Regions from separate parts of the Homo sapiens genome. Here regions 2, 3, 4, 5 and 6 are each linked to region 1. The links are contacts of gene promoters, found by promoter capture Hi-C in blood cells and fetal thymus (Javierre and others, 2016). All regions are on one chromosome and are shown on one strand. Each heading gives the region's core, a stretch centred on a gene start or on the middle of the fragment in contact. The rest is flanking DNA. Distances are from core to core; before and after follow the strand shown.

The links. Contacts are between HindIII fragments. The CHiCAGO score rates a contact against its expected background, and 5 or more counts as called.
Region 2: a contact is called between a fragment that was not itself captured here and the fragment with the promoter of DNAJB11 in region 1, in 1 of 17 cell types (naive CD4 T cells). The highest score is 6.4, in naive CD4 T cells.
Region 3: a fragment that was not itself captured here is called in contact with the fragment with the promoter of DNAJB11 in region 1 in 1 of 17 cell types (fetal thymus); the score reaches 6.6 in fetal thymus.
Region 4: a fragment that was not itself captured here is called in contact with the fragment with the promoter of DNAJB11 in region 1 in 1 of 17 cell types (total CD8 T cells); the score reaches 5.0 in total CD8 T cells.
Region 5: a fragment that was not itself captured here is called in contact with the fragment with the promoter of DNAJB11 in region 1 in 1 of 17 cell types (total B cells); the score reaches 5.1 in total B cells.
Region 6: a contact is called between a fragment that was not itself captured here and the fragment with the promoter of DNAJB11 in region 1, in 6 of 17 cell types (naive B cells, megakaryocytes, M2 macrophages and 3 more). The highest score is 7.0, in naive B cells.

Annotation. Positions count from the first base shown.
Region 1 is chr3:186,567,619-186,572,811 of GRCh38, reverse strand. It overlaps DNAJB11 (DnaJ heat shock protein family (Hsp40) member B11), which reads right to left and starts at 2,092. Exons shown (of 10, transcript NM_016306.6): 1 at 1,847-2,092; 2 at 561-717. The coding sequence starts at 1,914. It also overlaps a transcript of TBCCD1 not described here. RefSeq lists a silencer at 1,841-2,080. The HindIII fragment of the contact is 6,099 bases long and covers 1-4,890 here.
Region 2 is chr3:187,026,582-187,031,774 of GRCh38, reverse strand. All of the region lies in intron 2 of ST6GAL1 (ST6 beta-galactoside alpha-2,6-sialyltransferase 1), which reads right to left. Among named protein-coding and RNA genes, the nearest start is that of ST6GAL1, 99 kb to the right of the region's middle. The HindIII fragment of the contact is 2,635 bases long and covers 1,876-4,510 here.
Region 3 is chr3:186,209,274-186,214,466 of GRCh38, reverse strand. It overlaps DGKG (diacylglycerol kinase gamma), which reads left to right. Exons shown (of 25, transcript NM_001346.3): 21 at 2,582-2,672. Among named protein-coding and RNA genes, the nearest start is that of ETV5, 100 kb to the right of the region's middle. RefSeq lists an enhancer at 3,912-4,539. The HindIII fragment of the contact is 8,579 bases long and covers 1-5,193 here.
Region 4 is chr3:186,911,725-186,916,917 of GRCh38, reverse strand. No RefSeq gene overlaps it. Among named protein-coding and RNA genes, the nearest start is that of ST6GAL1, 16 kb to the left of the region's middle. The HindIII fragment of the contact is 207 bases long and covers 3,102-3,308 here.
Region 5 is chr3:186,242,425-186,247,617 of GRCh38, reverse strand. It overlaps DGKG (diacylglycerol kinase gamma), which reads left to right. Exons shown (of 25, transcript NM_001346.3): 20 at 5,050-5,114. Among named protein-coding and RNA genes, the nearest start is that of DGKG, 120 kb to the left of the region's middle. The HindIII fragment of the contact is 2,541 bases long and covers 844-3,384 here.
Region 6 is chr3:186,260,324-186,265,516 of GRCh38, reverse strand. It overlaps DGKG (diacylglycerol kinase gamma), which reads left to right. Exons shown (of 25, transcript NM_001346.3): 14 at 211-270; 15 at 3,739-3,818; 16 at 5,004-5,078. Among named protein-coding and RNA genes, the nearest start is that of DGKG, 99 kb to the left of the region's middle. The HindIII fragment of the contact is 4,780 bases long and covers 1-4,696 here.

The sequences.
Region 1 (5,193 bases), core at 843-3,342:
CTTGAAATGGGGCCAGAAGGCTTCAGTTTGTCAAAGTCCTCAACAATCCTTATTGCTTCCCAATATGGAGGCAGAATATCTGCTGCCATGTTTTAACTTATACCTGCCCTGCATGTTATTTGTCTAGTTCATATGAACATGCAGGTTTGCAACTCTCATGAAGGCTTTCTTTTTATTTTTGGTTCTAGCTCCCAAACTGATTGAACGACAGACCAATCAGTTGATCTACTTATTAATCTATAATAAGTTCAAGACTAGCCTGGCCAACAGGGTGAAACCCTGTCTCTACTAAAAATACAAAAATTAGCCAGGTGTGGTGGCATGCACCTGTAATCCCAGCTACTTGGGAGGCTGAGGCGGGAGAACTGCTTGAACCCAGGAGGTGGACGTTGCAGTGAGCGGAGATTGCACCACTGCACTCCAGCCTAGGCAATAGAGACTCAGTCTCAAAATAAATAAATAAATAAATAAATGTGAGCTGAAAGGAGTGTTTCTCTGTATTGTATGTTTTTTCTAGAGCTACAGATTTTATTCGTACTTTATCACTTTTCCCAACTCACCTCATAAGCAGCACCCAGATCCTGGAATTTCTCCTGGGCTTGTGGATCATCAGGGTTCCGGTCGGGATGAAGCTGCAGGGCTAGTTTCCTATAGGCCTTTTTAATATCCTTTATAGAGGCACTTCGAGGCACCCCCAAGATCTTATAGAAATCTCGTCTGGGAAGTAGAGGGAGAGAATACTTCATTAAAGAGTTACATGTTACATTTTTCAAAGTAAAAGATTTATTTTTCCTCTACATTTAGGTTTGTATCTGAGCAAAGAGGTATAAAAATGAAGGTTTATGTGACACATACACACACAAAGAATGACTAAAGAGAGAACACCAGAATTTGTAATGAATCTTATATATTGAAGTAATCACAGTAAGAGGCTATATACTTCTTTTCGGATTATTCAAAACATCTGTGGCACTTTTCTTTCAGAACCACCTTCGGTCAAGAAAACCACTTCCTTATTTTATGGTCTCATGTTATCTTTAGGCAATAACCATATAATCAAATTAACTCTTCCCCCCTTTCCCTATACTGGCTCCAAATGATTTTGACTTTTCTAAAAGTCAAATAACACTCTCAAAGGATGATTTTCCTTCTTTAAAAAGATTATGCCACATAAATGTCCTAACAGTAGCACTGCCAGAATGTTAAAGATGAAGCAACTTAAGATAATAAATAGCTCAAGAAGCTGGGAAGTACAAGGGCTGTCTAAAGATCTTCTTGTTCCCATCCCGCATCCAATTTCGTTCAGTCCCAACTCGGGCTGGCATCATCCACCCACTTTAATGTCAGCCCCAGAATGGCTCTTCGAAGGCTTGGCATAGAGCATCGTCCGCTTCTCCACCTCAGCGGGGCACAGCAACTCACCTCTTTGATCAAACAAACGTCCATCCCCTCAACCTCAGCCTGGCACTGTCACTATCTTTCCTTACAGTCAGGCATCCCTCTTTCTTCCCCAGCTCTACGTGACACTGCTTCAGCTCGCAACCACCTTCTTTCCCTCATCCCCCAAATGCCGTTTGGCAATGCATCCAACTCCCACTCCTCTGGGCAAATCTAGCTCTACCTAAGACCCTCTCTGGACCTAAGGCCCTCTCACTGGTGTCACCCACGGTTCTCCTCTCACCCCACTAGCCTGGCCCATACTACCCCTTCCTCCGCCACCCCGCCAACCCACAGCGATGCCCCTCTCCACTCCGTCAGTCTGGCAATGCCACTTCCCCCACCCCCTCCCACCCCCCAGCAAAGGCTGACCCACAGGCCCCGTTGTCTGCGAGTGTCTGTTCCTCACCCGGCAATCACCGCCCCGATGAGGTATAGCAGCAACAGGCAAAAGGTGCTCAGGTTCTGCGGAGCCATGGTTCCTCTGTCCCGGGTCCTGTTCCACACACTCCTCACAGCCTCCTCCGCCGCCGCGTCGGCTCGCCAGCCCACCCGGCCCTGTGAGGCCGCCTCACACCGGGGGGGCGCGGGGGTCTCCTTGGTCCGCAGAGACAGCTAGCTAGCCCCCTCTTCTGCCGGTCCACTTCCCGGGAGTCCCGAGTCCCGGTGAGAGAAGCCCCCGGTAGGCGAGAGCCAATCGTTGCCCGGGACATCACACGCGGCCGGCGCCTGGAAGCCAATCAGCGCAGTACACTTCACCTCCGAGGCGGCACGGGCAACCAGTTAGGCTTCAGAACTGCAGTCGCAGCTCTTGACCAATTAGAAGCGGAGACGTCAGAGGGTCGCGCCGCTGCAGGAACCCGCTCTGCCTGAGCTACCGCGAGTCGTAGAAAATTACGTAATGATAGGGGGCCGGTCAGAGTGAGGGCACCTGAGGTACACGAAATCCCTCCGGCTTGCCCACTTCCTCGGACTTTCCACCAATCAGGAGCTTCCTCCCCAGCACCAACCAATTGTGGGAGAGAAGTTTTCTCTGTGCTACAAGCCCGGAATTTCATTCATACCCAGCTACGCTCCGAATGAGGGAGCAGAGGTACAGCGGCCGAATGAGCGGGAACAGTTATTCCACGACAGGTGTACATCAGACGCATTGCTTAGGCCTCTTATTTTACGTTCTCCAAGCAACTCCATAAGACAACTGTCTCGGAAAGGCTACAGTGATGACAGACCGACTTAAGTTCGGATTCGGCTTCCACCGCTTCTTAGTGGTGAGACCCCCCACCCCTCCCCTCCTCCCAAGTCTGAGCCTAAGTTTATCAACAAAACTGAGGCAAAGCACTTATTGGCAGTTCTGTGAATTTTAACAGGGAAAAAAATCGGTAAATCATCGGGCGTATAGTAAGCAGGCAACGAGTAAAAACCATTATTACGGTTCAAGCAGAACTCTTTGATTCCCCATCTTCCCCCCGATTTTGCTCATCGCAGTTACACAACACCTAGTTGATCAGGACAAAGCTCTAGGTGTTTTTATTCCTTTCATGCATAAGCTATCCAACTCTTTACCTCTGAACTATACTTCAATCTGTTCACTACATCTCCATTACCAGGATTCTGGGTCACAGTGTATCTCTCACCTGGCCAGGGCCTCCTAACTGGCCTCCTTGCCCCCACTCTTAATATCTTCCTTAATATCTTAATATATGTTGCTCATCCCTGTCCCTCACTCCATGATTTAAAAAAAAAAAAAAAAAGCCCGGGCGCGGTGGCTCACCCACCCAAAGTGTAATCAGCACTTTGCGAGGCCGAGACGGGCGGAGCACCTGAGGTCAGGAGCTTGAGACCAGGCTGGCCAACATGATGAAACCCTGTCTCTACTAAAACTACAAAAATTAGCCAGGTGTGGTGGCGAGCGCCTGTAACCCCAGCTGCTCGGGAGCCTGAGGCAGGAGAATTGCTTGAACCTGGGAGGTGGAGGTTGCAGTGAGCCGAGTTCCTGCCACTGCACTCCAGCCTGGGCGACAGAGTGACACACCGTTTCAAAATAAATAAATAAATAAATAAATAAAAAATAAAAGTCAAATCATGTCACTCCCCTGTTTAAAAGCCTGGAATGGCTCTTCATTTGCACTTAGAATAAAATCCCAACTCCATGCTAGTTTACAAAGCCGTTTATGCTTTGTAAACCTATTATACTCCTAACCATGCTCCAGCAAAACTTGCTTCCTTTCTTTTTTTTGTATACACCGAGCTCATTCCTGCCGAGGGCCTTTGTGCTAGCTATTGCCTTTGCCTGAAACACTGTACTCTCCCTCATGTGCTAGCATGGGTGATTCCTTCTTTAACTCATATATCAGCTTAAAGGTCGCCACCTCAGGGAGGACTTTCCCTGACCAATTAATCAAAATTAGCCCCTACTGAGTTCCTTACTCTTACACCACCCTGTTTTCTTTTCTTTATTTCTTTTTTTTTCCTGAGACAGAGTCTCGCTCTGTCGCCCAGGCTGGAGAGCAGTAGCGTGATCTTGGCTCACTGCAACCTCCGCCTCCTGGGTTCAAGCGATTCTCCTGCCTCAGCCTCCCGAGTAGCTGGGACTACAGGCGCACACCACCATGTCCGTCTAATTTTTTTGTATTTTTAGTAGAGACTGGGTTTAACCATGTTGGCCAGGCTGGTCTCGAACTCCTGACCTCAAGTGATCCACCCGCCTCAGCCTCCCAAACTGCTGGGATTATAGGCATGAGCCACCACGCCCGGCCTCCTATTTTTTTCATCCCTGGTCCCTAGACTTACACACTGAAATGCCAGTTTCATGAGAGCATGAATCTATATTGTTCTGTTCACAGCTGTATAAAAGAGCACCTTAGAACAGTGCCTGGCATGGAGTAGGTGCTGAAGTACTTTTGAGTCAAAGTTACTGGGATGGTGATCATTGTATGGCTGGCTTCTTACTCTTCAGGCCTCAGCTCAAATTTGGCACCACAAAGTGGCCTTCCCTGACCCCCCGCCCCAATTTTCATAGCATTTTTCACTATTTGAAATTATCTTATTTTATTCCTTAATATGTATTGTCTATTCTCCCTGTTATACACTCCAAGAAAGCAAGGACCTTGTCTGTTTTGTTCACTTCTGTCATTCTAGTGCGTACCACTGTGCCAGACACACAGTGGTACTCAACAAGTAACAGCAGGGTCACTGAGCTAATAAGTGGTGCAGCCTGGATCCTAACCCAGGTATGTGTAAATTTGAAGCCCCTGCTTTCAGGAAGATACCCAGTAGGGACAATGGCCACACAAAAGAGGAACTAAATTGCATTTTACGGTCTAATTTACCTTTGTATCTATCACACCTAGAGAGGCCATAAAGGAACTAAAAAAAGCAGGAAATGTCCAGAAATTCTGAAATGGAAGTTTAAAGGAAGGAGTGATGGCTTCTGCCCGGTAATCTGAAAAAGCTTCATGAAGGTGGAAACACGGCAGGAAAGCTAACAGAGTTAAGGAGCTGACACCGAGGGGCGGCAGGGAGTGCCAGTCTTGCTTCAGACGCCCTGGGCTTGAATCTTGGCTCCATCTCTTGTGTGACCTTAGGGTTGTGTTATTTTCACCTTTCTAGGCCCTAGTTTCTTCATCAGTAAAACGAATGTACTTAAAGGGCTCTTGACAAGACTTAGGAAATACACATAAAGTTGCTTTACACAGTGCTGAGACCATAGTAAGTGCTCTATAAATGCAAACTGCCATTAGTATTAGTAGCATTTCT
Region 2 (5,193 bases), core at 1,944-4,443, 460 kb before region 1:
TCATAGTGTGATTTACAGAATCAAGTAAAATAATCCACTCGGCCAGGTACTGTGGCTCATGCCTGTAATCCCAGCACCTTGGGAGGCTGAGGCAGGTGGATGACTTGAAGTCAGAAGCCCGTGACCAGCCTGACCAACATGGTGAAAACCCGTCTCTACTAAAAATACAAAACTAGCGGGGCGTGGTGACGTGTGTCTGTAATCTTAGTTACTCGGGAGGCTGATGTAGGAGAATCACTTGAACCCGGGAGGTGGAGGTTGCAGTGAGCCGAGATCACACCACTGCACTGCAGCCTGGGCAACAGAGCGAGACTCCATCTCAAAAAAAAAAAAAGATAATCCACTCAAAGGGATTACAACAGTCACCATCCCTTCCTCTGTGGATACCATTACTACCCCCATTTTTACAAACAGGGAAACTGAGACAGGGAAGATAAATAATTTGCCCAGATTAAGTAGAATGGCACTCTAAATGTCGAAGACTCTTTCATGCCTTTGCAGCTCTGCACAAGAAGTTCTTCAGCAAAGTGTGGTTTCCTGTGCTGTTCCCATGGGGCCATGCCCACTCAGCTTCCAACACCAGCTCAAGTGCTCCTTGACTCTCAAGCTTCCTTGGCCTCACAGAGATGATCAGCATAACTCCATGGTGCCTATTCTTCCCCTCATCAAACTATGTGACATTTATCTGTTTGCAGATCTGTCCCAACCAGATTGAGAGCTCCTGGGCCACAACTAGGAAATGTTCAGTCATGTCTGAATGCAAGAATGAAGCTAGCTCCTGACACCATCCCTCCCCACTGCCCACTGCCTTCAATTGCTACAGCCACTCCCTCCCACCTACCCACCCATCACCTTCAGTTGCCAGAATCACCTTGACGGCACCATCATTGCAAATGTTCATTTTGCCTGTTGGATACACTGAATGACAGGGAATTTACTACCGCCCCAGACCACACACAACTGTGTGAGTAGCTCTGCCTCTTAGAAATATATTAAAGTTAATGAAAATCAACTTCCCTGTAAAAATAAATCCAGTGTTGCAGCTGGGCACGGTGGCTCACACCTGTAATCCCAGCACTTTGGGAGGCCAAGGCGGGCAGATCACTTGAGGTTAGGAGTTCGAGACCAGCCTAGCCAACACGGTGAAACCTCATCTTTCCTAAAAATACAAAAATTAGCTGGGTGTGGTGGCGGGCGCCTGTAATCCCAGCTACTTGAGAGGCTGAGGCAGGAGGATCGCTTGAATCCGGGAGGCGGAGGTTGAAGTGAGCTGAGATTGCACCACTGCACTCCAGCCTGGACAACAGAGCAAGACTCTGTCTAAAAAATAAAATAAAAAATGAATAACTATAAACCCAGTGTTTTAAGCTCTACTCACTGGAGCCACATAGACTCAGATGGTGAACCTCTAACACTTGTTGCCTCTAGCAAGTGTTAGACTGAACCTCTAACACATGCTATTTGTCAGGCTCAAAGTGAAGAGCATCACATGCATCAATGCATGTCATCCTCACAGAGACCCTGTGCAGACAGCGCTACCTATGACCCCACTTACCTGGCTGCAGCCATCTTCTCCCCCACCCAAAATACCGTGCTTCGTTGCCTGAATATTTTAGCTCCAACACTGTTTCTATCATAACTCCTTGTGATATTAATATCCACTTTTAGGATATTCTAGTCCTCTGGCCTCACAGTCCTTTGATCTCCTCTACCCCAGTGATTGTGACCACGGCCACTCACTCCCAGAGTTGTATCTCTGATCTTGTTATTTCCCAACAATACCTTCCATAATCTTGAGTTCAGGCATCCCATCTCCAATTACCACTCCTGTCTATATGCAGCCTATTCCAACTAGTACCCCAACTCCAACAAGCTTCTGTGGTTAATCCTTCCACCTGTCACTGTTCCTCACTTTCCTCATATTCTTACTTCCCTTCCTACACAGCTTAAATTCCATGGTCAAAATCATTAAAATGAGTCCTTTGCCCTCTTTGATCACACATGATTGGCTAAAACTCAATCCTGGTTAAATCCAACCCTCTGTTCTGCTCCACACCAGCAAACATGCAACTGAGCATGGCTAGAGAAAATTGTACAACAATGCTTACTGATTTCACTTCAAGTTCGCGATCCCTAACTGCCAGGAGGTCCTTAATGCTTTTCAGAAATCACATGCTACTTGTCCAGTCTATTCATCTGGCACTCGCCCACTACTTGACTTCCTCCTTTCAATCTCCCTCTCCTGTGATGAATTTGCTACTTGTTCATGGAGAAAACAAAAGCTGCCAGATTAGAACTTCCTCAAACCCCCTAACAGAGCCCCCTTTATCTGCATTTATGTCCATATGCCTCATTACTATAGATGAACTGGCTATGTCCAACACTTGCAATAACCAACACTTGTCCACTAGATCCTACACATTATTGTTTACTTAAGAAAGTTGTTCTAGAAAACCTCACCCCTTTGTTTAATTGATAAGTATCCCTCTCTCAAAGATTACTCCCATCAACATATAGACACGCTGCTGCTCTTAAAAAGCAAAATCAAAACACCTCTCGTGAGTCAAGCAGCCGTGACCTGACCCTGATCAGTCTTTTAGCATCATTAACAGTGAGACATCTAGATAGTGTGTGCCTTCTGATGTGACGTGACATGAAGCACCTATGAAAAATTCTTTTTTTTTTTAGAGACAAGGTCTTGCTTTGTCACCCAGGCTGGAGTACACAGTGGCACAATCTCTGTTCACCGCAACCTCCACCTCCCAGGTTCAAGCGATTCTCCTGCCTCAGCCTCCCGAGTAGCTGGGATCACAGGCGTGCACCACCACGCCCTGCTAACCACCTATGAAAAATTCTTGCCCAAAATGTTTAATCTGTATATTATCAAGCTGTCATACACAATTCCAGTTTTTAGGAAATACAGAAGAAAGAAGAACAAGTCAAATAGCGCCAAAGGAAAATTATCAGACAAATCCAGAAGGTAGGACTTCCTATGGGACAACTGAACTGGTTTCATCAACAAGTAAATGGGAATAAAAAACAAATGGCTTCGCAGATATAATAATATGTAATACGTACACCTTGTCTGAATCTTGGTTTGATTCACCTTGGGGACAAATGGGGATATTGGAACATAGATTGGTTATTATATGGTATTAAGAAATTATTGTTAATTTTGTTAGGTGTATAAAAGTATTGTGGTTATATAAAGAAAAAGTCCTATGCATGTGAAGTAGTAAGAGATGAAATCTACTTTAAAAATCTACTTTAAAATACTCCAGCCAAAAAATAGATTCAGCAAATATGAAAATAATGCAATGTCATTTTTTGGATGTATTCAAATTAAGCTATGTAACAAGACTGATTTTCAAACTCCTTTCTTCTTAGACAGTGATATAGTTTGGGAGTGGGGAGAGTTTTAAAGAGCTTGAAGAAAAAAGTCACGATAGACAATTGTTTCTGTTTTACTCAAGGAATTAACTAAAAGATATATGACTTTAGAGAAGTCATATATTGAGCCACTTATTGCATGAGTTCTAAATAAACTCCACTTCCCTGCCCTGACCCTAAACCTCTTGACCTCATTTCTCTTCTTTAAAATGCCTTATTTCTCTTTCCTTTACAGTAAAACTCCTTGAAAGACAGTCCATAGTCTTGTTTGCAATAGCTATCTTCCCACTCTCACTTGAACCCACTCCAACCAGGCCTCCCCATCTCCATGAACCTGATCTTGTCAGAGTCACAAGGACCTCCACGATCTCCACATTGCTAACCAAATGGTCAATGTTCAGTCTTCATCTTATTCAGCTCATCAGCAGTCCATAACTTCCTCTTCCTTGATGCATATTCTTCACCTAGCTTCCAAAACCTATACTTCTCCTGGCTTTTCTCTGCCTTACCGGTAATGCCTTACTGGTCTCGTTGCTGGCTCCTTCTCTTCTGCCCCACTTTATGCACAGAAATGCCCTAGACCTGCCCTTTCTCTACCTATACTCACCCTCTACTGCTTGTGAGCATCTTGCGGTCAGCTCTCCACCTACCCAGCCCCCTGCAGTTTGAGCTCAATACCTGTTTGTTGAAGTGCACTGAGTCCGGAAAGTCGGTTCTGTCAGTGAGCTTCTACAGAAAGGAAGCCTTTGAAAATTTTTTTTGAGAAAAGAAGACGGGGCAAGAAGGGGGGCCGGAATAAAACACTGCACTCACTTCACTATTTACCCTCTTATCTGTTATCTGTAGAGAGGAGGCAACACTGAGGAGCACAGTGATTCTCAGACTTAGAGCACACCCAAATTATTAAAATCACTTGTTAAAATGCGGGTTCCTGAATTCTGTCTCAATCATTCTGATTCAAGTAGTCTGGGAGGTTGGGAGAATATTGGGGGGAAGTTGGAAATCTGCATTTAATAAGCACCCCAGGTAATTAATTCTCAGGCAAGTGGTGAGAAACAGGTCGCTGAGAACAGTGCTACTGAAAGTGAGATCTGCAGAGAAGTGCTAGGCTGAGAAAGCTTTTCAAGATGCAAGATGAGAAAAGTACAGAAATGGAGTGTAAGTGACTTTTACAGTAATTTTAAAGAGTAATTTTATGCCTGTTAGATCAATACTTTTTAAAATGGGGCTTGTATTTCAAATGTCCTTTTTCTCATTTCATGATTCTGGAATCCATGCTTTTTTATTTATTTGTTTATTTTATTTTTTATTTTTTATTTATTTATTTATTTTTTTGGAGACAGAGTCTCCCTCTGTCGCCCAGGCTGGAGTGCAGTGGTGAGATCTCGGCTCACTGCAAGCTCTGCCTCCAGGGTTCACTCCATTCTCCCGCCTCAGCCTCCCCAGTAGCTGGGACTACAGGTGCCCGCCACCATGCCTGGCTAATTTTGTTTTTGTGTTTTTAGTAGAGATGGGGTTTCACCGTGTTAGCCAGGATGGTCTCGATCTCCTGACCTCATGATCCACCCGCCTCGGCCTCCCAAAGTGCTGGGATTACAGGCGTGAGCCACCGCACCTGGCCCCATTTTTATTGTATTTTACGTAACTACTGATGTGAGAGGAATTGGGAAAAAAAATTTGGTTCTTCACCACCAATAGTTTGAGAAGCCTTGGCTTTGGAGAAACAGTTCACTCAGGCTCTAGTCTCAAAAAGCTAGATTGAAATCCTGGCTTTTGTACTGTAAGTTATCTTAGGCCAATTAG
Region 3 (5,193 bases), core at 992-3,491, 360 kb after region 1:
TCACTATATTATCCAAATATGCCAGCTCAAGACACTGAAATAATAATAGCTAATAAGTAAGTAGCTGGCATTCTTGATGAGCCTGCTATACAGCAATCCTATGTGAAGTGCTTTGCTGTTATCTCATTTAACTTTTCAACTACCTCTTGAAGCAGATATTTTTCTTATCTCTATTTTAGAGATGAGGAAACTGAGGCTTAAAAACATTAAATCACTTGTCAAAGGTTACACAGCCAGCAATGAATGAGTAGTCCGTTTGATCTTCTCAGTTATTCTGCGATGCTGACCTAACCGTGACCTCTTAACCTTTATTAGCTCATCAGAAGAGCTACTACTGGGCAAAAATAGCTGTGGCTTCCGGAAACTTTTATTGAAACTCTAAATCTCCTGGCAATAACTTTCAAAAGTCATGATTCAGGCCAGCAGTGATATTTGAAAATGGAATCACAAGCAAGTCTCCTGGCTACAAAGATGCTCTTGCTGCCAAAAAGGAATGCTCAGCTTTGACATTTATGACAATCTGTGTTTTTCCTGTTACTTAGTCTTTTGCCATCATTGACTGTGGAAAGGCACTGACCCTCGTTCTGTCCTCCCTGGAGAATTCTCTCCTTCAGGTTTAACTGGTTCTGTCCTTTTCCATGTTTTCATTTCACTGGGATCTACAGCAATGTCCTGTCCACTGACCATCTGCATAATGATCACTTGGACACACATAAAAATGCACAATCCTGGGCCCCGTTCCACAACTCTCTCATAGAATCTCTACAGATTGGAGCCCTGGAAGCAGCACTTTAATCACATTCCCCAGGTAATTCTTATAAATACCAATGTTTGAGAACCACAGGCATAGTCTCCAGATCCACATGACTCACAGTATCCCCTGGACCAGCAGCACTGAAGATGAGGAATCTTGGGCCCTAACCCTAAATCACTGAATCAGAATGTGCATCTTCATAAAATCCCCAAGTGATTAGATATGCACATGACTGTGCATGCAGAGAACCAGTCATCTAGAACAATGTTTCCCCCAATTATTTTACATCATCATGGCATGCATAGAAAATGAAAATCTATGTGTGGCACACTGGGAATACAAATGAGAATGTTTGCCATGGCATTGGGGCTCAGCCTGTCCCAGATCCCACCTGGCTGCTCTGCAGGCTGAGGAGACTGACATCCCAGGTACGCCTGTGCCACAGCACATGGGTTGAGAAGCACCGGTCTGCTTACAGTACACCCAGCTCTTCTAATTTTGTTCATGAGGCATAATTCCCAGAGCTTGCTTACTCTTACTTTCTTCATCATTTATTAGTTCTTTTCATGCATACTAAGAGTCAGAGAAGCTATTTCCCAACCAACTAGATCTCAGAAGTCTTCATACAATGGAAGAACACAGTTTCATCTTCAAGTTCTAGGTAGACTCTTGGGGAAATCTGCAGAAAAGAGTTGTGTCTATTATTCTGGAGAGTCATCTGCTACAACCTAAGGAACATGAGGAAAAAATAAGAGCCCTCTTCCCTCTGAAGACTGCTCCTTTCCCCTTCATCTGCAAACCTGAGGAGAGAGGATTAGCGCCATGCAAGGTGGCATCCTCTCTTCTGAGTGCCAAGAAGAATGTGATTTTGTTTAATCCTTCCTTAGCAAAATCTGTCAGCTCGTAAACTGGACAGGTGTCCCTTCTCTTAGCCAACCCCTGATAATGGGGTGACAGTTGGGGTGGAAGGAATGGAATACCTTCAGAAACACTTCCCAGTGAGACCATCTGATCAAAAGCACCAAGTGTCAGGACACACCATCTGACTTTGCAAAGCCCCCAGCTACACGGGAACCCCATTGATTGATTTTTTTTTTCTCTCAAGGAAAATGCTGAAAATTTTTAAAGCTCAAAGTAGTGAACTCTTACTTTGAAGCAAATATGACAAGTCTTGCCCTTAACTGAAGGATTGCCATGGCCTAAGCAAATACATTTGAGGAAGAGGGGAGGTGATTATTGCTACCAATCAACTCTTCTTTTTTTCCAACTTGCCTGCAAGTCTGTATCTAATTCTTGCCACTCTGCTTCCCCCAGTCAGAGCCTGGGCAATGCAGCACACATTTTAGCTGGGTTAGTGTGGGGCTATCCCTCCTCTGTCCTAAGACTGCACATCCCTCAAGTCTTAGAAGGATCTTCCCTTTACACCCCAAACATACCCAAAAGAGAGTTCTGCCTGAGTAATGGAAAGGACAGTGGCCAGAGCACTGTATTGATATTTGCCACCTCTGGCTTGACTTCTCGTAGAGCTCTTTCCTTAATGCAGCTACAGAGACCTTCTTCCTGTTCTGACCAGGAAACTCGGGGAGCAGTTGGTAGTTCACCCAGGGTTGCCGTGATGTCTAAGAAATAAGTGGATTTTCTCTAAGTTCCGAGCAAGAACAGTTGGTAAAAAATTTCTATTCCTTGATCATCTGATTAACAAGTGCTGAAAATGTAAGATTGGGGAAATTGCTGAAGGCTTGGGCCTCCCAATCCAAAGAACATAGCTATTTTACATGAGCATTTCAAGTATGGAATATTGAGACATCTCTCTGCTTTGTGGTCCAGGATGAAGAACAAGCTGTGGTACTTTGAATTTGGCACCTCGGAGACTTTTGCAGCGACCTGCAAGAAACTCCACGACCACATTGAGTTGGAGGTAAGTTCCCAAGTGGGGAGAAGGCTTCCTGGATCTTGGTTCTGCTCCTGGACTGTCACACATGCACAGGATGTATCCTCTTGGGACCTTAAGAGGTGACCCAGAGCGTAGTCTCTGTTGTTTCTCCATCCTGTTCCAAAACACCTCCATACGCTCACTCAGAAGGCTCCAGTGGCCTGTCTAGAGAATCCCTGGGGGGCTTTGGGACTCAGAGGCCCCGAGAGCCCAGAGCCACACTTCATTCCAGCCCTCAGCCCTCCTTCCACCGTGGCCTTGCGATTCCCTCTTTTCTGAGAGATAAAGTCTCCATTGCCGTCAGCACAGGGAGAGGGGCTGCTGTTGGAGAGACAATGTCCCAAGCCTGGTAAAAGTCTGGGAACTGGTGTTACAGGGCAGCAGGGGTGGGGAGTATAGGGGCTGCAGCCAGACATCCCCCAGCTGACCTGCCTTGATTTTCACATCTGCTTCAGCGAGCTGACTCACAGGTACCCAGGGTCAGTTTTGTGGGTGTGCAACCTGTGTGGTCACAAAATGTCCTTGTGCTTAGAAGGGCCCTTGATTTCATCCTATGCTGTCACTGTCTTGAAATCCTTGATAATTTTCTAACAAAGAAGCTGGCATTTTCATTTTGAACTAGGCCCCGCAAATTATGTAGCCAATCCTGTTGGTGCACTTGTGTTTCACTAACTCTTCCGGCACTTGTAGGGGCCTGCCTCAGACAGTCTGCCTGCTGGCTCCCCTCCCCTGGTTGATAAGCTGCCCACTTCCCACCCTCTCACCCCACGTTGGCTGGGCTTCGCTCCGGAAGCCCTCTCATTGATTGCCATGAGGACAGCTCCTTGGTGTCTGGCCACCTGAAAGCCCAAACTTCTATGCACACCTGCTCCGTGGGACTTTACGCCCATTGGTTCTCTTGCCCAGAGTTCTTGCTACCAGGCCTACCTTCCCGTGGGATTTAGGCCCGTAGTCTTCTTTTCACTTGAGGAAAATAAGTGGAAGAGGCAGCCAGAGAGTTCAGCCAGGGTGGGCTCCTCTTGGCCCACCAGCTTGGCCTCTAAGCCCGCACTGCAGTCCAGTGGGGCCTGGGCCTCCCTGGAGGAGGCACCTGTGGCCTGGAGTGGTGTAGGAAAGCCCTGCCCCTCCCTGCCGGAAGGGCCCCTGTGCTCCTCACTCACAGGGAGTTTTCACAAACAAAACACGAAGCCAGAGGTTCTGTGCGGCTGCATTTGACTCATCTGCCTGCCTCTCCTCTTCGGTTGCTGGGTTACCAACGCCAGGGTGGGAGGCGCCGATCTGGCTAATCCCCTGAACTTTTGGCCAGCTTGGTAAGAGGGCAGAGAGGCCAGGCGCCAGGTTGTGTGTCCCCAGGTGGCACACAGGGAGTCTGAGAAGCCGGTCCTCCTCTCTTGACGTGTGAACGCAGTGCTGGGAGCTGAGGAAGGAGGAGAGGCCTTGGCAGGGGAACCGAGTGTGGCTAACAGGGATATGTGTGCATTTTTTCCCCTTGGCACAGCCGTCTGGTGAGGTCTCTTTAAATATACCACAAGTGAGGGACAGCCCTGGCCTAACCACAGCCAGCTGCAGGCGCACAGCGACTGCTTGTTCTCCCTGCAGCTGGCCTTGAAATTGTGCCCAGAATACAGCAACTCAGCTCCCCTGCCTCTGGCCTGCCCTCCCGGCTCCAGGCCCCACAGTCCCCTCTGGGTTTGAGAGACAGAGGCTCTTCCTCAACCGCAGAGGGGGCCTCGTTGCTAAAGACACTGGTGGCCTCTGGAGGGGGTGGGGTTGTTCACTGGTCTGGAGGGAGGGTGTTGTTGGGAGCTTTCAGAAGCACTTCCTGTTTTCCTTATCTCTCCATAATGAGTCTTTTTAGTATTTATTCATGAGGATTAGCTGGGGGAGTGGGGCTGAGCGTGTCATGTGATGGGCAGCTTCTGACAGCCCTCAGGATTGGGGCAGGCACCATTTCTGTATCCAGAGAATAGCGGTGAATGGTCCTGTGCCTTGTGATCTAGAGGGGGACTAAGAGAGACGGACAGGGCGAGGCATGGGGGTAACAGGTGTAAGGAGACCGCAGAGCCTTGCAGGGAGATGGGAGAGTGTCAGGGGCCTCAGGAAGAGCTGGTAAGAGCAGCTATGCTAAGGGACCTTCTAAACGTGGTTGCTGCAGACAACAGGCCAGGCCTTTGAGAACCAGCACACGACCCACCAGCCCCAGGCCAGCAAATAACCCCACTGAGGCATTGCTACTACATTTCGCCATCTTCAGTTCCCCACCATAGCCTTTATTTCAAAGTCACACAACCAACCCTGTGAGCTAAGTAGTCCAGAGATTATTATCCCCATTTTATGGGGAAGCAAGCTGAGGCACAGAGATTTAGAAGGGTAAACTAGGCCAGGTGCAGTGGCTCACACTTGTAATCCCAGCACTTTGGGAAGCCGAGGCGGGTGGATCACCAGCGGTCAGGAGTTCGAGACCAGCTTGGCCAACATGGTGAAACACTGTTTCTACTAAAAGTAC
Region 4 (5,193 bases), core at 1,956-4,455, 340 kb before region 1:
CTTTGTTTCTTCTTTAAATCTTTCTTAATTTTTCAAATTGTCTACAAAGAGCATATATTATTTTACCAATTTTGTTTGTTTGTCATTGTGGTAAGGCATATGTAACATAAAATTTACCATTTTAAACATGTTACTTAATATTTTCGAAAGTCTTTTTGTATCTTTATCCAGCTAAGAAGACTCCCAGGCTCAGGGAGCTTGCTCAACTTACTGTTCTCTTGGAGTAGCCCTGGCAGGTGCTGTGAATGGAAGCACAGCCACTGATAGTGCCTAAATGCTGGACCCCTTCACCCTGGTAAATACCATTATGGTTTTGGAGCATGCAACCACCTGCTGAGGGTTGGCATTTCAGCCCTCTGGTGTGGGTAATAGTTCCTTCCTGAAGTCAGGGAGTTATGAGCTTGTCACGCTTGGAGAATGAACACCTCCTCCATCCCCAAACCTATCCATTCTGTCTCTGCTACTGCCCCACCCAAATGCAGCTTTCAGACATTTCCTCCAATGCTCAGGAAACAAGGGAGTTCCACGCAGGCTCCAGAATCCCCCCAAAATTCCTCTGTGCCTTCTGGAAAGTGTACAAAGCTGGGATGTGGAGACTCTTCCCCCAGTTCTGCAGGATCGTCCTCGTGCTGCGGCTTGTGTCATGAATCACCGCACAAATTAAAGAGAACACGTTGTGTAACAGAGCCTGGCCAGAGGGAAGAGCTACCTGGCCACAGGCCTGTGTGTCTGTTACATGCCCAGCTCCAATGGGGAAATGCCACCCTTGAAGCAGCTTCTCAGTTTCCTGTAGTTAGTTTCACCATTGCTTGTATCCATTCTCTTCCTTCTCTATTTTCATGTATCTAATTCATTTATCCAACAATCATTATTTATCTCTTGCTACATACTCGGCACCATGTTAGGGATGAGATACTGACACTGAAGATAACGGTAATAATCTTATTAACTGCCAAGCTCTGGGCTAAAAAGTTTTACCCGCACTATCTTATCTAAACCTTTAAACACACTCCACAAAAAACTCTTTTGCTTATTTTATAGATTATAAAGCTGAGGCTCTAGAAGAAGAAACCACTTGCACAAGAAAACTTCTGGATAAAGATGGCAAAATGACTCTAGATGACATAATCTCTCTCCTCCCAACATTTAACACAATGAACAGCAAAAGTAAAAGCAACAGAAAAAAAGTACCATCAATTTCCGCTTTTGGTATGGACAAATAAGCATCTACCAGATCCTGGTTTCCTACAGATAATACATATAAACTTTGGATGAAATAAACAAAGAAACAAACAAAAACAAAAAGCCTGAAGGCACTAAAGAGTAAACAGAAGCAGACAGAATCCGGGGGGAGTCAAAACTTGGATAAGTGAAATGGCAAGGGGTGAGTTTCCTATTTTTATAGTTTTGTAGCCTGAGCACAGGCTGAGGTTGGTACTATGTGGGATAGCTAAAACTCTAATACAGCATGCTAGAAAGCAGGAGGTGGGAGGATACTAGAAAGAAATGAGCCAGAGTAAGAAAGACCTGGATCCTGTGTATAAACTCTGATCAAGATTTGGGCAGATTCCTGAACCACACTCACATAAGGCATGCTCAAATCAGCCTACCTAATGGTAGTGAAAATGACCCAAGAGATAGAGTTTTGCAGTTTGAGCTCAGCTAAGTTAAGTGCTTGCTAAAACAAAACACCAGCATTCTCAGAAGAACATAATAGGACGTAGAATCTCCAGAACATCAAATTTATAATGCCTAAATATACTCGAAAATCACATACCATGCACAGAGCCAGAAAATATGATCCAAAGTTAAGAGAAAAAACAGCACAGAGCCAGAGAATATGATCCAGGATTAAGAGAAAAAACAATCAACTTGGGCCAACCCCAAGCAGCAGATAAGAACTCTCAAGCAGGTATTACAACTCATCTCAGCAAAGTAAAGGAAAGTATACTTTAATGAATGAAAGGCAGGAAATCTCAAACAAGAAATAGAAACTATGTAAAAAAGAACCAATGGAAACTTAAAACTGACAAATGCAATATTTTAAATTAAAAATTCACTGGATGGACTTGATTTAAAAAAAGAGAGAGAGAATTTTATAGCCATAGAAATTGTCCAATCTGATGACAAAAAAAGTTGAAAACATTGAACAGGGTCTCAGGGACCTGTAGTACAATATAAAAATACCTGCATACAGGTAATTGAATTCCAGAAGTAGAAGAGAGAATGAGACCAGAAAAAAAATTTTGAAGAACAAATGGCTTAAATGTTCCCCAATGTGTTGAAAGACATACATTTATAAATTAAAGTTCAGTGAACCCCAGGCAGCATACATGTAAATAAAGACACATATAGGCCTATCATAGTCAAACTGTTGAAAACTAAAGAGAGAATTTTGAAAGCAACCAGAGAAAAAAATGATACCTCACATAGTGGAGGAGTCATTTGAATCACTTCTGAATCCTCATGAGAAAATATGGAGGGCTAGGCACAGTGGCTCACGCCTGTAATCCCAGCACTCTGCGAAGCCGAGGCAGGTGGATTACCTGAGGACAGGAGTTTGAGACCAGCCTGGCCAACATAGTGAAACTTCATCTCTACTAAAAATACAAAAATTAGCCAGGCATGGTGGCACGCAGCTGTAGTCCCAGCTACTCGATAGGCTGAGGCAGGAAAATTGCTTGAACCCAGGAGGCGGAGGTTGCAGTGAGCCGAGATTGCACCACTGCGCTCCAGCTTGAGCAACAGAGAGAGACTCTGAAAAAAAAAAAAAAGAAAGAAAGATAGAGGAGGAGGGAGAGAGAGAGAAAGAGAGAGAGAAAAGAAAGAAGAGAGAAAGAAAGAAGAAAGAAAAGAGAAAGAAAGAAAGAAAGAAAGAAAGAAAGAAAGAAAGAAAGAGAAAGAAAGAAAGAAAGGGAAAGAAAGAAAGAGAAAAGAAAAGAGAAAATATGGAGACCAGAAGATAGTGGACCATCTTTAAAGTGTTTGCAGGGAGAGAAGGAAAGAACACCTGGCAATCTAGAATTCTATATTCGTTGAAAATATCCTTCCAAAATGACATTGCAAAAAATCTACCAGCAGCAAGGAAAGAGATTCAAGCTTATGCCTTAGCTGTCAAAAAGAAGTTGTCAGAGGAAGAAATATAAAGTTCTGGTGTGGTGACACAGGGATCATAATTTCATACTTACCTTTTCTAGAAGTAGTGTGAAGGGAAGTAGATACAATGGCAATATTTCTAATAATTTTTAGGAATCGCTCTCCCTGTTTCAATCTGCAGAGAATCTGACTGAGAGGATGAAAAGGAAGCTTGAAGAAAAGTCAAGACAAAATGCTTAGAAGCAGAAGCCACTACATACCACCATAGAAATTGCAGAACAGCCAGGGCCTGACAGCTTCCAGAGCATGTGCTGGCTTAGGGAAGGCACACAGGAGCGGGGTACAAAATTGGACATCTTAATGAGATCTCAGAAAGTGTCATGCCCAGGTCCTCTAGCAAGGGCTGTGCGCAGCTCCATGCCTTCCCTATGCCCTCAAATTACGGAAATGTAGACAGCAAGCAGCCCCTGTAGTCCTGATGGAAAGACTACTGGGTTTTTTTTTGTTTTTTTTTTTTGAGACGGAGTCTCGCTCTGTCGCCCAGGCTGGAGTGCAGTGGCGGGATCTCGGCTCACTGCAAGCTCCGCCTCCCGGGTTCACGCCATTCTCCTGCCTCAGCCTCCCAAGTAGCTGGGACTACAGGCGCGCGCCACTACGCCCGGCTAATTTTTTTTGTGTGTTTTTAGTAGAGACGGGGTTTCACCGTTTTAGCCAGGATGGTCTCGATCTCCTGACCTCGTGATCCGCCCGCCTCGGCCTCCCAAAGTGCTGGGATTACAGGCGTGAGCCACCGCGCCCGGCGACTACTGGGTTTTACACATGATAGAAGGGCTTCAAGGAGAAGTCACCCACATATAACCAAATAATGGAACGAGATTACCAAACCGTCTGTGTCAATCACGGGCTAGATAACAAAAAGAAACAGGGCAGAAGCTATGAAAGCATTCGATATAGAGAAAAGTAATCCAATCTGGAAGAAAACGTAGCCCAAGCCAAGGAACAGTGCAATACTCATTGTGAATTTATCACTCTTCAGACATATATCACATTCTAATAAAGTATACGATTTTAACAAAATAAGAACACAAAGACAAAAGGATAAAATAACAGCATAAGATTAAAAGGGAGATTAAAGTACTAAAGAAACAAGTTGTGTAGCAAAATCCCAATTTACATCTAACAAATAACCTAGAAAAATAACCAAGTAACACAATAGAACCAACCGAGCATCAAATTATTTTTGTGGAAGGAAGGCTTGGTATAATCATAATGAAAATAGAAAGAAAGGATAAGGAATTTAAGACATGTAAAGAATAGATGATAAAAACCACCTAACATAACAACTACTACTGTCCTGGAAATAAGAGTTACAACAATTAACTAGGGAAATTATCTAGAAATGTAATACAGGAAAATCTCTCCAAAGTGATTCTGTTTTTCACTCAAGAAGATGCATTGTTTTCCAACAATATTGGTTGAAAAAAGATATTTAGGCGTATGCCTGTTAAAGTTGAAGGCAAAAAAAAAAATTCTTTAAATATTCAGAAAGAAAAATCCAGTCACCTCTCAGGGTTTTTTAAAAAATCAGATTTTTCTCTAAAGAGCAGTGCAATGTGGCCGGGTTTGGTGGCTCACGCCTGTAATCCCAGCACTTTGGGAGGCCGACGCGGGTGGATCACGAGGTCAGGAGATCGAGACCATCCTGGCTAACACCGTGAAACCCCGTCTCTACTAAAAATACAAAAAATTAGCCAGGCGTGGTGGCGGGCGCCTGTAGTCCCAGCTACTCAGGAGGCTGAGGCAGGAGAATGGCGTGAACCCGGAAGGCAGAGCTTGCACTGAGCCGAGATCGCACCACTGCACTCCAGCCTGGGCAACAGAGCGAGACTAAATTAGACGGCTAATTTTTTGTATTTTTAGTAGAGACGGGGTTTCACCGTGTTAGCCAGGATGGTCTCGATCTCCTGACTTCGTGATACACCCACCTCAGCCTCCCAAAGTGCTGGGATTACAGGCATGAGCCACCACGCTCAGCCTAGTTTCTATTTCTTTAAATTAACTGTGTGAAGCCAATCAAACTGCCTGTGTAGGTTAATA
Region 5 (5,193 bases), core at 865-3,364, 330 kb after region 1:
CACGCAACCCTAACAGAGTCTGGGGCTGACATTTGCAGAAGGTCTTGCTCCCTATTTGACTTCCCAAACTTTGTAAGAGAAGTAGGTATGTAAACCGAGGAAGTTTTACTTCCTTATGATGATCAAATAGAGGCGGACTCCACTGGCAAAGAGAGCCCTGCCAAGGTCTTTGCCTCTTTTGAAGGACCTAGAATATCTTATGATAGCAAACATCTGTTGCTTTGTATTTATAAAGATGATGACAATGACCTCTGAGACAGTGCCCTTGGGTGCTGTGGGTAGAATTTTCTCTGATGAGTTTACTGAGACCCCTTGATGCCAACAGAACCCATTTAATAGCTGAGGGAATAAATAAGGCAGGGTCTCCTGGCCTCTCCAGGGAGTGACTGTGCCCTCATTGCTACGACAGCCCCATCCACACATCAGTTTCTCACCAGTGAGAAGCTAAGATCGTTGGCCTTATCAGTCCTTCTAACTGATAATATCTACTGGCAGGAGATTTTAAACACAGTCATTCAGGATGCCACTTCCTCTGACTTCTCTGGCCTGCTCCTCCCTGTTCTTTATTTTTAGATTAGCAGAAAATGTCAGGATGGCCAGGTATCAGTGACAGGAAGTTTGGGACTACAAAATAATTCCCAAGGTATGTGTAACTCTGAACTCCTCACAAGCTCTGCTTTCATGAGCCTTAACAGGACGGGTGAACAGCTAATCCCTTGATTCAGTGAAATCTATTTCTGATGCTAGGGGAGCCCAAGGGCCAAGGAGAGGCCACAGTGGTTGCACTGACCCACGCACCGTTTTCCACCTTGCAGATCGTTCCTAGCTATCACCAGACAAGCTTCCCACCATGATAAGCGTCCTACACATAGGGAATTTCTCAACAAGACATAATTTTTCCTGCAGATTCTTGGATTCTGCTGGCACCAGGTTATTTGTCACCTGTGAGAGCCATGAAGATACTAATACAGTGGGACTCCCCAGAGGGACGTGGACAAGGGTCTATACCCTTTTCCATTCCCCAATCTCCCATAATTTTCAGAACAACCCCAATTTCAAATAATCTGTCTTATGGTCTCCTTTCCATCTTTTTATCTCCGTAAATTGCCAAAGTGACTTAGACCTGTGTTATCCAATGTAATAGCCATCAGCCACATGTGGTATGACATGCTTGAAATGGGGCTTGTCTTAATTAAGATGTTGAGTGAGCTGTAAGTATAAAATATACAATACTTTTCAAAAATGTGATATAAAAAATTAATGTCTCAATAATTATTCTATTCCATGTGATGATAATATTCAAGGCTTATTGGGTTAATGAAAATATATTATTAAAATTAATTTCAGGCCAGGCGTGGGGGCTCACACCTGTAATCCCAACACTTTGGGAGGCTGAGGTGGGTGGATCACCTGAGGTCAGGAGTTTGAGACCAGCCTGGCCAATGTGGTGAAACCCCGTCTCTACTAAAAGTACAAAAATTAGCCAGACGTGGTGGCAGGTGCCAGTAATCCCAGCTACTTGGGAGGCTGAGGCAGGAGAATCACTTGAACCCAGGAGGCAGAGCTTGCAGTGAGCTGAGATCATGGCACTGCACTCCAGGCTGGGCAACGGAGTGAGACTCCATCTCAAAAAAATAAAAAAATTTAAAAATTGTTTTAAATATTAACTTCATCTGTTTTTTTTTGTTGTTGTTGTTTTTTTGTTTGTTTGTTTTTTGTTTTTACTTTTTTATGTGGCTACTAGAAAATGGTAAGTTACATTTACATGTGTAGCTTACTCTGTATTTCTATTGGATAGCACTGGCCTAGATACTCCAATATCTCAGAGTCCAAATGACTGATGCATGTACTTGGAAGGGGCCCAAATTTCTTTGTCCACCCATGTGCTTGGAGTTGTAGTTCAGGAAAGAGGCTCTATGTCCATACCTTCCACCATCTCCTCTTCACCCCACACCTGAAAGAAAAGACCTCAGAGAGTAAGGCTGTGAGAAATGCTATCATCACTTCCATGGATTTGTAATTCCCATCTCCTGCCTTCAGAACAGAAGTCTCGCTTTGCCTTAATTATCATCAAGAAAGGGTTTACGCCTTAATAACCAAGAAAGGGTTTGAACCATCGTAGCCCTGGTTTCCCAAATTTAAATGAAGTCACTACTGATTGTAAATATGCTCAGGTCATTGCCTGACATAGAAGCTCCAGAGAGTGAAAGTGAATCTCGACTCTCTTTTTAATCCCCAGATAGAGAAACGTGGTCAGAGTCTTCACCCTCATTGCCTTTTTAAGACTTAGAAAAGGAGCTGCTCTACTCTCCCTTGCTACTTTGTGTATTTGCCAAGGGATTACATTGTCAAATTAGGGACCACGTGCTTCACTAATAATGTTTTAAAGGCTGGTCTTTGTAAAAAGCATCTTTGCAAAACCTAGTTATGGAAAAACCAAAGACAATCAGAACTGCATGGAAGGAGGGGGCCTGTACACATATCCCGGAGAATAAAAAAGCTGGGAGTCAATCAGCAGTATTGGGGGTAGGGGATAGCGAAGTACAAATTGTGCCAGGCAACATGTGATTGCTTTTTTCTTCCCCGCCCCCCTCCACTTTTTTTTTCCTGACAGACGAAAATTAGTGCTTCAAAGGAATAGAAGTAGATGGAATATTTTCTCGAATTTTAGAGAAGCATTTGACAAATGTCACATGAATCTTATTGAGGGTGTTCACTGAAATTTGCTCAGAGAGTGGGAGGTGGGTACAGTCTGGGAGCATGAAGTGCTGCTGCCCAGGGAAGCGGTGCAGGCTGGATAGGCCTCAGGGACAGAGGCCTCTCTGGGGTCCGCACATCTCACCCGTGCACCCATGGGGGTGCCTCTCCAAGACCTTAAACTCTTAATATATCTTAAGCTAAAAAATAAATTGGCCAGGCCTGGTGGCTCATGCCTGTAATCTCAGCACTTTGGGAGGCCAAGTTGGGCAGATCACCTGAGGCCAGGAGTTTTGAGACCAGCCTGGCCAACATGGTGAAACACTGTCTCTACTAAAAATACAAAAAATTAGCCCGACATGGTGGCGGATGCCTGTAATCCCAGCTACTCATGAGGCTGAAGCGGAAGAATCTCTGGAACCTGGGAGGTGAAGGTTGCAGTGAGACAAGATTGTGCCACTGCACTCCAGCTTGGGTGACAGAGTGAGACTCTATCTCAAAAAAAAAAAAAAACATCAATAGCTAAAGTTTAAATTTTAAACTCTCAAAACATCATTTTAGCAAAGAATGTTTGCCAATCACAAAATAAGCCCATCTTCTCCTCTTGCCCTGCCACCTTTCAGATGTGGGCTGCTGGACTCCTATGCCAGGTGCACCTCACCACACAGAGTTCATGCTCAAAAAGCTTCTTCATAGAACTATACCTCTTGATGCTTAAAAACACACACAGAGGCCAGGTGCAGTGGCTCACATTTACAGTCCCAGTACTTTGGGAGGCCGAGGCGGGCAGATCACCTGAGGTTCGAGACCAGCCTGGCCAACATGGCGAAGACCCGTCTCTACTAAAAATACAAAAATTAGCCCGGTGTGATGGTAGGCACCTGCAATCCCAGCTACTCAGGAGGCTGAGCCAGAAGAATTGCCTGAACCTGGGAGGCAGAGGTTGCAGTGAGACGAGATCATGCCACTGCACTCCAGCCTGGGCGACAAGAGCAAAACTCCATCTCAAAAAAAAAAAAAAAAAACACAGAAATTTTCATATAAGAAATAGAATTAATATGCATTTGATGAAAATTCAAAATTCACTGCATGGAATTTCAAGTGTTTTGTAGCCATGTATTCCAGTAAATGGGTTTGTATATTTTTCATTGCAAAACAAATCTAGTCAACTCCCTGGTTTCTGTGTCACCCCCCATCTCCGGCTCAATTAGCCTGTTTATTTCTGAAGCCCAGCACCTGCACCCAAAGTACCAGTATGGGGCCTGAGCGGTGAAGGGGCGTTACACATTCTTCTGCTGGAAAATGAGACCATTGTCGAGGGTGGAAGACCGAGTTTGAGGAGGAAAGACAAGTTCCGTTTCAGGTTTGAGGCTTAGGGTTGGCTCTAGAGATTGACACTTTGGAGCTATCATCATTCAGATGCTGGTAACAGCCACGAGAACTCACGAGATGGCCACGGTGTGGAGTGGGGGCCGCAGGTAGAACCCAGGGTTAGGGAGTTGTGGTCAGAGGATGGAGAGCCCAGGAGCACAGTGCATGACAGCCATCCTAACTGTGAGTGCTGGAGTGCAGGGGGCCGCTAGTGTGGCAAAGGGATGTGCTAATAGGAGGGCAGTGTCCACATGATGTAATAATGACTCTTATTGGCCTTGGAGGGAGTCCTTCGAGTGAAGTGATCAAGAAGCAGAAGCCAGAGTTTAATTTTGTTTTATTATCTAGTAAGCATGTTATCCAGTGCCACTAATTATTTCTATTGGTGTGGATGGTTAAGACTTAATATCTAATAGCATCTACCAATGTCAGGTTTCTGGTTTTGACAATATCCTATAGTTATATAAAATGTTATCATTGGGGGAAGCTGAGTGAACGGGACCTAGGAACTCTATGCTATTTTTGCAACTTAATTGTGAGTCAAAATATTCCAAAATAAAAACTATTTTAAAAAGAACTAGTATGGAAAGTCATTTCCAGAGACTCATGCTCAGCCCCAGACACAGGCTCCTGATCTCTAACTGCTCACAGACTCTCAGTCTCCCCAGAGGGCAAAGGCTTTCCCCTTCACTCACCCCTGAACTATCTATCTGTTCTCAGCGGGTCCGGGCTAGAGTGAAATAGCAAGGACTCCAGAGTCAACTGGCATAGGCTGTAAGAGTATTGGTGGTGCTAGCTCATCCCCCTGGAGGCAGTGTTGAGCCTCTGTTGGCTCCGCGGATGTGACCTGGAGCCCCACCATGCGATAGATAGAGTCCCAGGGTTGGCATGACTCAGCGAGTGCATGCGTGCGTCCCTTCCCTCCGCACTGCACTGTCATGACCACTCACCAAGGATCTGCTTTGTCTCTTTCACTTTCAGGACGCTTCCATTGCACACAGATTCCATGTGATGAGAGAGAAACATCCTGAAAAATTCAACAGCAGGTAAGCTGCAGGCCCGGCTGCGCTGCCACCCACCCAGTGTGGCCCTGGCGGAACAGAGGCCTTTCACCTGCTCTCTGGA
Region 6 (5,193 bases), core at 1,057-3,556, 310 kb after region 1:
CATCACTGGAGGCCTGAAGAATCCTAGAAAAAGTCATAGGGGTACATTTCTTTATTTAGGTCAGAAGCCCTATGTTGAAAACCTCGTCTCCATACTACACTAGCTTTCTGATCTCTTTCTTTATATCAGCCGTTTGTTTTTCATCTGATCTCTTTCTTTGTGTTAGGCTTCTTTTTCCAAAAGATGCTTGTCTTTCCTTTCTTGTCACAGGACAGGCCAGGTGAGAAGTCTGATGGCTGCGTGTCCGCCAAGGGCGAACTTGTCATGCAGGTACCTCATGAGCTCTAAATCCGATTGCACCTTCTAAGTTGTTCCAGGGCTGTGGCGGGCAAGACGGGGTTTGGGTTCTACAGAAAAGCATCTCAGCATTTGCCTTCTCATCTGACTAATTATACCACCCAGGAGGGCATTTATTTGTGGCCTCTGGTGTTACCTTTGACAGCCACACTGTCAGCAAGTGGTGAGAGGAAAGGTTGACTGATCCCATTGCTGGTCTTATTGGGCTTTATTACTATTTTAGGAAAAAGTTACATAAAACTTTAATATGCAGATGTCCTAAATAATAACAAAGATGTGGCCTAAAAATAGACAATGGGTTTTTCAAGATTGCCAAGCTGTCTCCAGAACATGATCTGCCAAAATGAAGCTAACCAGATCTAAAAGTTCTTCTTAATCCTTAAATGTATACTTAAGAACTCATTTTTTTTACTTGGGTTCAGCAATGAACATTTTTTGTGTCTTCCACAGAGTTCCAAGGAATGCAGGGAAGGCAGCCTGGTGAGGAACAAAGAGTACTAGAAAAGGAAATAGAAAACCGGGGCCTCCTGCTCTGCCTCTGAGCCTTAAGTTTCCTCCGCTCAAAGGAGACACAGTAATCCCTGCCCTGCCCACCTCCCAGAGGTGCTGTAAGATTAAATGAGAATATACAGATTCACGTGTTGTGAAAAGTAAAAGGCCGGGCGCAGTGGCTCACGCCTGTCATCGCAGCAGTTTGGGATGCTGAGGCGGGCAAATCGCCTAAGGTCAGAAGTTCGAGACCAGACTGGCCAACATGGTGAAACCCCATCTCTACTAAAAATACAAAAATTAGCCGGGCGTGGTGGGAGGTGCCTGTAATCCCAGCTACTCGGGAGGCTGAGGCAGGAGAATCGCTTGAACCTGGGAGGTGGAGGTTGCAGTGAGCCGAGATTCTGCCACTGCACTCCAGCCTGGGCAACAGAGGGAGATTATGTCTCAAAAGAAAAAAAAGAAAAAGAAAAGTGAAACATAAGGCCGAATGAGGGGAGAATCTTAATATGTGAGAAAGCTCTAGACACCTAGAAGGGCAGAAAGGTGGGAAACACACACAGGCGCATGCATATCCACACCCGATACATGTATGCCAGTTGTTTAGGGCAGGCAGCCATCGGGTTGTCTTGCATCTGTTCTGATGGGGCAGAGCCCCCACTGTAGGACTGGCTGTTAAATACGTTGAATATCATCTCCAGAGGTGAGGGTTTATTCCTCAGCCTCCAAGATGCTTCTGGGCATCACATAGTCACCCTGGGCAGGTGAGACAAATTTTTTAGATCATCGGAAATGCTACTATCCTTTTCAAACAACATGGCACTGTGTTTGCTGGACTTTTAGCTTGAGATCTGGAAAAGCAGGCATTAGATATTGAATATGGAGCAGAGCTGTGCGTCCACATTGGTGTATCCTTCCACTGAACCCACAAGTATTTGCTGAGCACCCACTCTTGTGTCTGGTGCTATAGGGTCCTTGGTAGTAGGGTTACACACACCCCACTCTGCTCCCAATGCATTTTAAATCCAGTTGATGTTTTGAGTCATTTATCTAAGAAAGTAAAAAAAAAAAAAAATACAAATGAACAACAAAAGAAACTCCAGAAGATAGTACATGGTGCGTTTGTTTGCTTGCTTGCTTGCTTGCTTGCTTGCTTGTTTTTTGAGATGGGGTTTCGCTCTTGTCTCCCAGGCTGGAGTGCAATGGTGCGATCTCAGCTCACTGCAACCTTTGCCTCCCGGGTTCAAGCGATTCTCCTGCCTCAGCCTCCCAAGTAGCTGGGATTACAGGCATGCGCCACTACACCCGGCTAATTTTTGTATTTTTAGTAGAGATGGGGTTTCACCATATTGGCCAGGCTGGTCTCGAACTCCTGACCTCAGGTGATCCGCCTGCCTCAGCCTCCCAAAGTGCTAGGATTACAGGCATGAGCCACCATGCCCAGCCAATAGTACATGTTTTAAGTGCAATCATTTTAGTTGCAATGATGAAGGGAAACTTCATAGAGATGTCTCTTGAATTGAGCCCTGAGGATAAGCAGGTTTTTGTTGGTGGTGGTGGTGGTGTTTTTTGTTTGTTTGTTTGTTTGTTTGTTTTTCTTTTCCGAGACGGAGTCTTGCTCTGTCGCCCAGGCTGGAGTGCGGTGGCGAGATCTCAGCTCACTGCAACCTCCACCTCCCAGGTTCAAGCGATTCTCCTGCCTCAGCCTCCCGAGTAGCTGGGATTACAGGCACCTCCCACCACGCCCGGCTAATTTTTGTATTTTTAGTAGAGACGGGGTTTCATCATGTTGGCCAGGCTGGTCTCGAACTTCTGACCTTGTGATGCTCCTGCCCCGGCCTCCCAAAGTGTTGGGATTATAGGCGTGAGTGATCATGCCCAGCCAAAAATTTTTTTAGTAGTCTGCAAAGAAGGAAGTGGGCATTTCGGGACATGGAATGGGAGAAGAAACAAGCACGAGCAGACCCATGGGTGGGAATGCAAGAGACACACTCTAGACTTACTAGAGGAGCAAGAGCAGGACTTGGCTGCACCTGCAGCTGAGGGTTAGCAGGAATTAGGAGATAACAGTAGAATAGGGCTAGACTGAAAAGGCCTTTGATGCCAGGTTAGGAAATTTACATTTTATCCACAAAATCCAAATCCTCCTTTAATAATGAGATGTCTTTACAAGTTTTTGGGCAAGAGTGGTATGGCTGACCTGGTGTCCTGGGAAGGAACTGTGTGGGGATGGTGTGCAGGACTTACCTAGGGTGGGAAAGGCACAAGCAGCATGGGGCTGTGGCAGCTACCAGAGGTAAAGGGACATTTCAGGGAAAGACTTGGCAGGACAAGACCTTCCTTGGATGGATGGATGAATAACAGAAACAGGGAACCAAGAGAAAGGCCGAGTTTCATAGGGAGAGAAGATGGGTCATGTATGAGGCATGTTGAGCTTGTACTGATGGTGAGACGTCCAGTCGACAGTACTACCCACTGGCCAGTGAGAAATGTGGGACCAGGGTTCAGGAGGAAACTGGGGCCGGAAATGAGCATTTGGAAGGCGCCAGGGTGGAAGCGGGTGGTTCACTCCACGAGTGCTATTTCACTTACGCGTATGATCAGACGGCCGTGCTTTCTAAGATCATATTCAGCTGTGTCTCCCACAAAATTTCATCTTGTGCTGTAGGTACAAGACCACGTCATCGTTGAATGATTTGAAGCTACAGCATCATTGTCCCATCGCTGATCCTGACCTCAAACCCTCATTTCCGTTAACACTACTTAAAGGCCATTCAAACTGGAGACACTTAGCTACTTAGCCCCTCCGAAAATTCAGCCAGTGGAAAAACACCTGACTGCCTGCCCTCCTGCTTCTCATCTGCCTCTCCGAAGCTGTCTTGGCTTCAACTCTCATCTCACGCCCCCTATTGGATGAAGCAGAGCTAATTTCTTTTTCTTTTACCTTTCAAGTATAAGATCATCCCCACCCCGGGTACCCACCCCCTGCTGGTCTTGGTGAACCCCAAGAGTGGAGGGAGACAAGGAGAAAGGTACGTTCTCTTCTGTTTCAAAGTGGAGCAACTAGGGCGACACGACTCAGGCCCTTCCTCCCCTTGGCAGGAACACAGCAGGCTGTGGAGACAGGCAGACTCAAATCCCAGCACTGCCACCTGCCACTTTATGACCTGGCCCAAGTGACTTAATGTCCCCGGGCCTCGGTTTCTCCCTCTGTAAAATGGAGATAATTATCATTCCTCCTCTCACAGGTGAGAACAGACACGGTGCTTAGCCCACAGCCTGCCACGTGAGCCATTATTAAGACCACTAGAGTTAGACCACGCTCTGAGATGCCTGTGCCTTTCTAGCCTCTCAGATCTCTTGATTTAAGAGATGATGGGCAGCCCGTTGATTAGGACCTGCTGGGCTACCGTCACCCGTGAGAAGCCAGTGCATCCACCTCATCAGTTTGCTGAAATGCCCAGTTCAGCGGAGGCTAGAAATTGCTGAACAGCACAGGTGGACAGGGAGAATGGTTAAAGCAGCTCTGCCTCCCAATTCCGGGATCATTAACAGATGGCACCGTGATCTGGAATCCAGGTTAAAAAATAATAATTAGTAGAGTTAAAGCAAGAACTATGAGGACCCCCACCCCTGTCCAAGGGGCAGGACACCCCTCCTGAACTGACCTGACAATTCCAAGCTGGAGCCAGGAAAGCAGGCCTGGGTGCAGTCACGGCCTCTCAGCGCCCTCCCTCCCCCACAGCCCAACACCACCTCCTGCGTTTCCTCCTGATCCCAGGACTGCAGGGGGCCTCTCCCTGGGGAGGAGGGGGTCCTGTGATGCTTTTGTACAGTCTGCAGAGGGCAGAATCACACTGCCTAGACCATACAGAACATTTGGGAGAAGGTCTCTGTGGAGGATAAAGCTTTAGAATGAAAGTTCTGTTCTCTGGGTTTCTCTGCCCTGTCCTCTTTGTAAGGGGCGATGCTTCTGGGCTTAGGAGCTGGAGTCTAGGTTGGTAGTTCAGCCTTGAACCGGGAGTGATAACACGGGTGATGCCAGGTGGAACCTGGACGCCAGGGTCAGCAGGCAGTGCCCTCCCCTCCGGGGTTTAAATGAACCCTCATCCCTGCCACCAGTGGGCTCCAGAGGTGTTTGCCCTAATGTGACTTCTCACGATGACATATTCCTTCTCTGTCTCTCTCTCTCCCTCCTTTTCTTTTTTTTTCCATAGAATTCTTCGGAAATTCCACTATCTGCTCAACCCCAAACAAGTTTTCAACCTGGACAATGGGGGGCCTACTCCAGGGTATGGAGATCACAATCTTTACCTCTTATTTCTCCCCCTCCCTTTTAAACTCCAATGAAGATGCCTCTTTTGTCACCTTTTTTTTCTTTCGTCTCTCAACTTGTTCCTTCCTGCC